Linked DNA regions of Homo sapiens: region 1 is linked to region 2. Evidence: promoter capture Hi-C in human tissues and cell types (Jung and others, 2019). All regions are on one chromosome and are shown on one strand. The core of a region is centred on a gene start or on the middle of the fragment in contact, and the rest is flanking DNA. Distances in the headings are between cores, read along the strand shown.

What was found. The method cuts DNA at HindIII sites, captures the fragments that hold promoters and counts their contacts. A contact is called where the count stands out against the background at its distance.
Region 1: a contact is called between a fragment that was not itself captured here and the fragment with the promoter of JPH3 in region 2, in 2 of the 25 tissues and cell types used here (H1 embryonic stem cells and IMR-90 fibroblasts).

What each region holds. Positions count from the first base shown.
Region 1 is chr16:87,469,250-87,472,935 of GRCh38, reverse strand. The region is part of intron 1 of ZCCHC14 (zinc finger CCHC-type containing 14); the gene reads left to right. Among named protein-coding and RNA genes, the nearest start is that of ZCCHC14, 22 kb to the left of the region's middle. RefSeq lists enhancers at 877-1,834, 2,520-3,104, 3,105-3,686. The HindIII fragment of the contact is 5,698 bases long and covers 1-3,686 here.
Region 2 is chr16:87,600,082-87,603,877 of GRCh38, reverse strand. JPH3 (junctophilin 3) reads right to left here and starts at 1,370. Exons shown (of 5, transcript NM_020655.4): 1 at 350-1,370. The coding sequence starts at 731. LOC124903750 (a long non-coding RNA gene) reads left to right here and starts at 1,695. Exons shown (of 2, transcript XR_007065172.1): 1 at 1,695-1,866; 2 at 2,773-3,353. RefSeq lists an enhancer at 2,269-2,831. The HindIII fragment of the contact is 15,663 bases long and covers 1-3,796 here.

The sequences.
Region 1 (3,686 bases), core at 1,154-3,653, 130 kb after region 2:
GCAAGACCAGCCTGGGCAACATAGGGAGACCCCCATCTGTACAAAAAATAAAAACAATTAGCCGGGCGCTGTGGTACACGCCTGTAGTCGCAGCTGCTCAGGAGGCTGAGGTGGGAGATGGCACTGAGCTGTGGTTGTGCCACTGCACTCCAGCCTGGGCAACAGAGCGAGCCCCTATCTCAAAGATAAAAAATAAAAAGTGCATTTTTCTTGAGGGGGAAGGAACCATCATGGTGGCCGTATTGCTTTACTTTCTGATGGTGTCGTCTTCAGAGATTGTTGAGATTGGGTTGTTGGTTCCCACGTGGCCATGTCCTGTCAGTGTTGCTTCTGTGTGTTCCCTCGCTGTCACCTGTTGCTCCTAAGTGCTGACTTTGTACCTTTTTCGAGCAGCCTCTGATTGGTTTCTCCCCGACCCGGCCCGCGCCACAGCGGTGCTGCTGGTGGTCTGCTCTGTGGGGCCGTGTTGAGAGAGAAGCTCTGAGGGAGAGGCTTTGCATGCGTGCCTCGGTGCACGGTGCCAGCCTGGATCCCTGTGGCTGTGGAATGGGCGCTTGCTGTTTGCCAGGCTCCATCCTGAGAGCCATGCTTGGTGGACTGGCTACTTCAATCCTTGCACCAACCCTCGGAAGTCAATATGGTGGCTGTCCCCACTTTACAGATGGGGACACAGGCTTGGAAATGCCACATCACTTGTGTCGCACGACTAGTGATGGGGGCGGCCCTCCCGAGGGTCTGACTGTAGGGCCGGCATTTGGCATCACTACAGGAGGTTGACACTTTCACTATTATGTTTACTCCTCCTACTTCAGTTCCACCCCTACCCCCAGCCCAGTTTTATTGACACTTGCACTTGTCTGTGCAAGCATTTTCTCTCCTGTTGCATAAAGTTGTTTTTTTTAGTGGAGGGTAGTAGTTGCTCAGAAGCACTGGAAGACAGCAGTGGTCAGAGCCCGGTCAGCAGTGAAGGTCAGCGCCATTGCCGGCCTCCGACCCTAGTGGTGAGTAGGTCGCTGCTGGACAGGAGGGCAAGGAGGGGCTAGGAAGGCAGAAATGAGTTGTTGCTCATGAGTACAAGCAAGATGCTGGTGTTCTCTCTGAAGTCAATACATCCGTTAAGATGCCCTTTGAACCCTGTTTTATGGGATTACAGGACTAGGAAGTATGTCTTTAGCCTCCCTAGGGCTCTCGACTTTAGACTCCCTCTGTTTCTACAGGCAGTGTCTGGAACAGGGATTCTGGGTGTGTTGGAGGCTGACTGTAGGGAAGCCCTACCCCAGAGGTCCCATGTGGTTGGCCCCTGGTGGGATGTCTTGGCACCTGGAGGCCTGGAAGCCCCCGCGGGTGGGCAGTTGGGGCCGGTGTTCCTAGAGGAGGCCGTGCTGCCCTGTGGCTATTTGTGAAAGAGATTTGCATCTGGTCACTCTGGGAGCTGGTCTAGTTAAGTACTGGGTTCCCTTTGCTGAGATTTTAAGCAGTAATCTTTTTTCTCTCTTTCTCTTTTTGATGAGTAGAGCTCTAGGTTAAGAAATATTAAAAGGAATGTTTTTACATGGAAAATGTTTTTTTGGTTAGCGTTGGCTTTCACTTGGTCTAAGTCAGCAAATAGCTTTCACTCTTAAACTGTCTGTCTTCTTGTTCTGGTTTTTAGAGACACGTAATGACTATTTTAGCAAAATGCTTACAAATCTATTTTGTTTTTATGTTTTATGTTTTTTACGTTAACTTAAAAGTATTTAACAGACGTTACTCCTTCCTGTATAGAGGTAGGTTAATTGGAAAACAAATTGAAAACACTATTTTTTCATAGTCATGTTTACTGTATTTTGTTTGTGGGGGTAGACACTTTGAAGTTCATGTTAACCCCTGATGTGCCCGGCCCTCGAGATATGTGTGGAAGGAAAGTGTGGTTATGGTTTTAGAAGCTTGCTTTTTCTATACTTTTCATATCATTCACATCTTGTAGGGAGGTATTTATATTTAGACTTAATATCTGTAACTTTTTTAAATTCTAGAAGTAGTGATTGTTCCTCACAGAAAAATTGGAAAACAGAAAAATAAAATAAAAATTACCCAGAGATAAATGCTAGTAATATTTCGGTGTACCTTTGTCTTTTCTCAGTGCCTGTTTGCACACAACTGATGTACGTTCTGCCCATTTTCACATTATCTGTGAGCATCCTGCATGCCTTTTAAGACTGCATAATATTCAGTCATCTGGACATACACATTTAGCGACCTATTTCAATAGTAATCTGTTGCTGGGATGTTTATGTTGTTTGTTTTTCTTTTTGCTCAAGCTGAGATAAATCTCCTTACACACAAACCTTTGACTACATCGCTGATTGACTGTATCCTAACAGCAGACTCCTCCCAGTGGGATTAGTGGGTGAAAAGCTACAGATGGGAAAAAAGCTCATCACATCCTGCCTCCTTGCTGTCCAGACAGTGGCCCCAGGTTACACTCAGCTGAGGACGAGGCCACCCCCTGCAGCTTTATGAGCATTTGACTCCTGAGAACATTTTAACTGTAGTCCAAGTAATTAAATAATTATTCAAGCTGTCATGTGCTTGTTTTCATTATTTATTTATTTATTTATTTATTTGAGTTGGGGTGTCGTGCTGTCTCCCAGGTTGGAGTGCGGTGATGCAATCATAGCTCATTGCAGCCTCAACTTCCCAGGTTCAAGCGATCCCCCCACCTCAGCCTCCTGAGCAGCTAGGTACAGGCACACACCACCACACTCGGGTAATTTCTAAATTGTGGTAGAGATGTAGTCTCACTATGTTGCCCAGGCTGGTCTTGAACTCCTGACCTCAGGAGTTCCACCTGTCTAAGCCTCCCAAAGTGCTGGGATTACAGGTGTGAACCACTGCTCCTGGCCCCAGGCTGGTTTTGAACTACTGGGCTCAAGCGATCCTCCTGCCTCAGCCCCCCAAAGTGCTGGGATTGCAGGCGTGAGCCACTGTGCCTGGCAAGTGCACTGGTTTTAGAACAGACGATCACATGTCGTGGTAAAGTCTCTACTTGAGAAGATAGGCCCTGGCCCCCAGTGCAGGGAACACGGAGCTGGGGTGGCTGTGGGTGGCTCTGTCCTCATCCCCAGTGCTTCTGGGGGTGTGCTGCCCACAGGGGTGCAGCAGATGCTGTAGACACAGGGAGCCCTGCCTTCCGGGAGGCCCAGTTGCCGGTGCCCCTCCTGGATCCTCCCAGAGCTCCGAGTCTCTGTGACAGCACTGAAGCAATTTAATTGTCCTCCAGCCACACCGCAAGCACCACAATAATAACAGCAACTAACATTTTGAATGCTAACATTTTTCCAGTTCACAGTACTAGAAATGCATTTTACTGAATTCTCACAAAAGCCTTAGGTAGGTGCCATTATTTCCATCCCATAGTGGACGAAACAGGGGCTGCCCTGTGTGGACCCAGCACTGGCCGCCGAGACGGCTCCTGACCGCTGTGCTCCGCTCGCCTCCTTGGATTTAATGTGCACAAATCACAGACCTCTGTAGTTACAGGACCTAAAGTCTGCACTTGATTCTGCTCCCTACTGGCCAGATGACCTTGGGGAAGGCATTTAGGAACTGACATTCAGTTTTTCTTGTTTTTAACATGGAGATAATTTGATCTGTGTACGTCACGTACTGCAGGGATCAGATGGATGATCTCATATGGCTGCATA
Region 2 (3,796 bases), core at 121-2,620:
GCCCCCTCTGCCCTTGCTGGGTTCCCCAGGGCCGCGGGCCCAGCCTGGCCCTTCCCGCAGGTCTCCGGCCTGCTGTGTCCGACGCACGGAGGCTCTGCTGGGCCCCGCCTGGCTCTGCCCCTGGAAAGCCCCCAACACCCTTCAGCTGGCACAGGGGCACTGTCCCCACCAGGCAGCGGGGCAACCTGTAGCCAGGAGCCGCCGTGGCTTCCAGGGAAGCCCGGGAAAGGCCCCTGGTGCCCACGGCCCAACCGGAGGACGCAGCTCAACTTCCCCAGAGATCCACAGAAGGGGCGCGATCGGAAGCACGTCCCTCCCGCCCCGGCCCGGCCCGGCCCGCGGCACCTACCTCCGTCCGAGTAGGTCTCGGTCCCGTAGCCGTCCTGCAGCCCGTTGCTCCAGGTCCCTTCGTATTTGGCCCCGTTGCCCGCGCACTCCCGCACCCCGTAGCGCCCCTTGAATCCGTGCGTCCACTCGCCCTTGTACACCCACTTCCCCTTGCTCTCCAGGCCGATGCCGTGGCGCTTGCCCTGCGCCCAGGTGCCCTGGTACGTGTTGCCGCTGGGCCAGGTGTAGACGCCCAGCACCTCGAAGCCGTGGCTCCACGAGCCGGTGTATTCGCCTTGGCCCTTGGGGCCGGTGCAGACGCCATGGCCGTGCGCCTTGCCGTCCTCCCAGCCTCCACAGTAGGACCCTCCGTCGTCAAAATTAAACCTGCCCCCACTGGACATGCATGTAACTCGGTTCCAGATCCCGCAAACGGTGAAAACGGACTCAGGCGATCGACACAGCAGAGTCGCGGCCGCCGGCGGCCCTGGGTCGCGAGCGTTTTCCGGAGGAGAGGAGGACGCGGCCCCGGAGCGCGGTCTCGGGCGCGGGCGGCCGCGGCGCCGGCTCCGGAGGAATTTCAGTCAATCGGGGGCGATTATTCCTTTTCGAGCTGCGCCGCGGAGCCTGACCAGCGTCTCGCGCTCCCGCTGGAGACAGGACCGGAGGGGAGGGGGAGGGGAGGAGGGAGGGAGGGGGCAGGAGCGGCGGCGGCGGGGCCCGCGGCTCCACCTCAGCGGCGAGAGGGCCCCTCGCCGGCAGCCCCGCGGGGAGGGCGCCGCGCCGAGGCCGGGCGGGGGGCAGCTCAGGCCCGGGCCGCGGCCCCCCACCTGCGGCTGCCGCGCTGCGGGCGCCCGAGGGCGGCGGCGGGGCCCGCGGGCGGCGGCGGCGGCACGGGCGGCGGCGCTGGCGGCTGCACCATATTGGGGGCCGCGGGCCGGGCGCGGGGCGGCGGCGGCAGCAGCAGCAGCAATGCGGCGGCTCGGGCGGCGGCGGCGGCGGTGGCGGCGGCGGCGTGCGCTCCGGGCCCGGCTCGCGCGCTCGGGCCGCGCGGCGCGCGCCCGCACCCCGCCCGCCCGCGCGCCCCCGCCCGCCCCCCGCCCCCCGCCCCCCGCCCCCGCCCCCGCCCCCGCCCCCGGAGCGCGGCGGTCCCAAGAGGGGCGCGGCCCAGCAGGCTAGGGCGCGGCGCGCGGGCGGGGACCCCGGGCGCCCCGCCCTCCGCGCCCCCAGCCCCGCGCTCCCCGCCCTGGGCTTCCCCGGGGCCCCCGCCGGACTGGAAACCGGGGTCCAGCCGGGGCGCCCCCGCCCCCTCCGGGAGTGGGATTTAAAGGCACAGGAACTGCGTCATGGGAAGGCGCGCAGCACTCAGGGCGCCCTCGGCCCCCTCCCGGGAGCTGGGCGGTGAGGCCTGCAGAGCAGGACCTGCCAGCTGAGCGCCCCTACCCTCGCCCCTGCCCGCCCCCGCGCCTCGCCCCTCCCGCCGGGCTCGGATCTGCCCCGCCTGCCCCTGACTCGACTGAGGCCCTTTGCAAACCACAGGTGGTTTTCTCCGGTGACAAACAATGCTTCCTTCTTCCTTCCGGGCAGCTTGGGTCCAAGAGTGGGGGGAGGGGGGCTTACCCCAGAAAACAGGGATTTGGCGAGTCCCTCTCCCCTATAAATTGAGTGAGAGTCGGGACACACGCGTGTATCTTGGAGCAAAGTCACCCGAATTCCGTGCGCCCTGCGCCCTGGCCAACAGGTAGCGCCCCCCCACTCGGGGAACGGTCGCGCTTTTGGGGAGCAAAGTGGGACCGCCATTCGGGCGTTTCTAGGTCTCTCTCCAGACATACTCTCACCCTCCGCCCCTCTTCCCACGCACAAGAGAGAGTCTGATTCTTGGATCCGAGCATCCTGGGATCCATTTAAAATGCATTTCCTGGACCATAAATCCTCAGGCAGAAGCCGGCGTCCCCAGCCCTCCTGAAATGCGTGCGGGAAATGGCAGCAGACCGGTGCAGTGGGCTGATGGGGGTGTGGAGGCTGCCCAGGGTCCTCGCTCCTGGGAGTGTGGGCCGGTGACCGCAGCGCGGTGAGCCAGAAACTGCAAGCCAGGCCTGGAGCCTGAGATTAGGACAGGAGAAGAGGTGCGATTCGGAGCCTCCAATCAGCCAGGAGCCCTGCTCAGATCTTCCCCTGTCCGAGAGAATCAGGATGGTCCCCACTCTTGGCTCACGGGGCTCTCAGAAAAATCAGCCCCTCCTGGGAGTCCCAGAGTTCAACCTCAGTCTCTTGCCTTGGGCACCAAAGCTCCCTCCCCAGAGTACCAGCAGCCAGGAGGACAGTCACCTCCTCATACACCCACTGTCAATGAGGAACATTTAGGGCGGTCGGCTTTGTTTTGTTTTGTGCAGTTACAGTGATTCATTGAGCTTTCTAGCGCTGTCTCCCTGTGCCCCTCTACAGAAGTTCTCTAAATGTCTGCGGTGGCATCATTGGACCAGCTACGTCTTGGACTTTATTGGAAGCTGCCAAATTGCTTTCCAAACACCTGGAGCAACTGACCTCTCACCCTTCAGTGTGCCTGGGTTTGTGGTTCTCTATTTCCTGGCCAGCACTGGTGTCCTCAAACTTCTGATTTTCTTTCCATTTATTTTACTTTGTTCATCTAAATGGGTATGAAATAATATCTCTGGGCTGTTTCATGTCCATGGAAATTTCTCTGTTGTAAATGTGTGGGCCAAAGGAACTGCACCTTGTCCTCAAGAGATTCGGGTCGAAACCTTGGCTCCGGGGCCCACCAGCAGTATGGCTTTGGGCAGTCACCTAATGTCCCTGAGCTCAGTTTTCTCATCTGTAAAATGGAGATGGCAGAGTTCCCATAGGGTTACCGTGGGAATTCAAAAGCTAGGCGCCCAGCACTCAGTAAGCGCTCGGGAAGTGGGAAGTAATGTTATTGGAAGCCAGCCCCCCAGGGAGGGTCATGGATTCCTGCATGGAGACACCCAGCCCTCTGCCTGTTGAAATAAACATTGCCACCACTCGTATGTTCTACTTTTCATTTCTTCCATTTTATTTCCAACCATTTTGCTGCTGAATCAGCAGCCCTCCTTCACACAAGCAGTGGATTGCAACTGAGATCCTATTGAAACACGGTGGTTGCTTCCAAGCAGTTACTGGTCAGCACCTTCCACCTTTGGCCAGTGTACACTCCGCTCCCTTGCAGTTCCAAGACCCCCACCTCCAACTGACCCTCTCTCATCTCCTGCAGTCAGTTACTCCAGCGGTGACAGGCTCTAGTCTCTGAAATGCAGATATTACAGGCATTTGTTCTGTGCAATTTGGAAATCACCGCCCTCCCGATAAAGTAGGGCTGGCAGTATTGATTTCACTTTGGAGGAAACTCTCCAAGCCTATAAACGTAGTACCACCCAGCCGTTTAAAAACAAAAACCAGGGAGAAGGGTAAAAAAGCTGTAACCCACATGTGA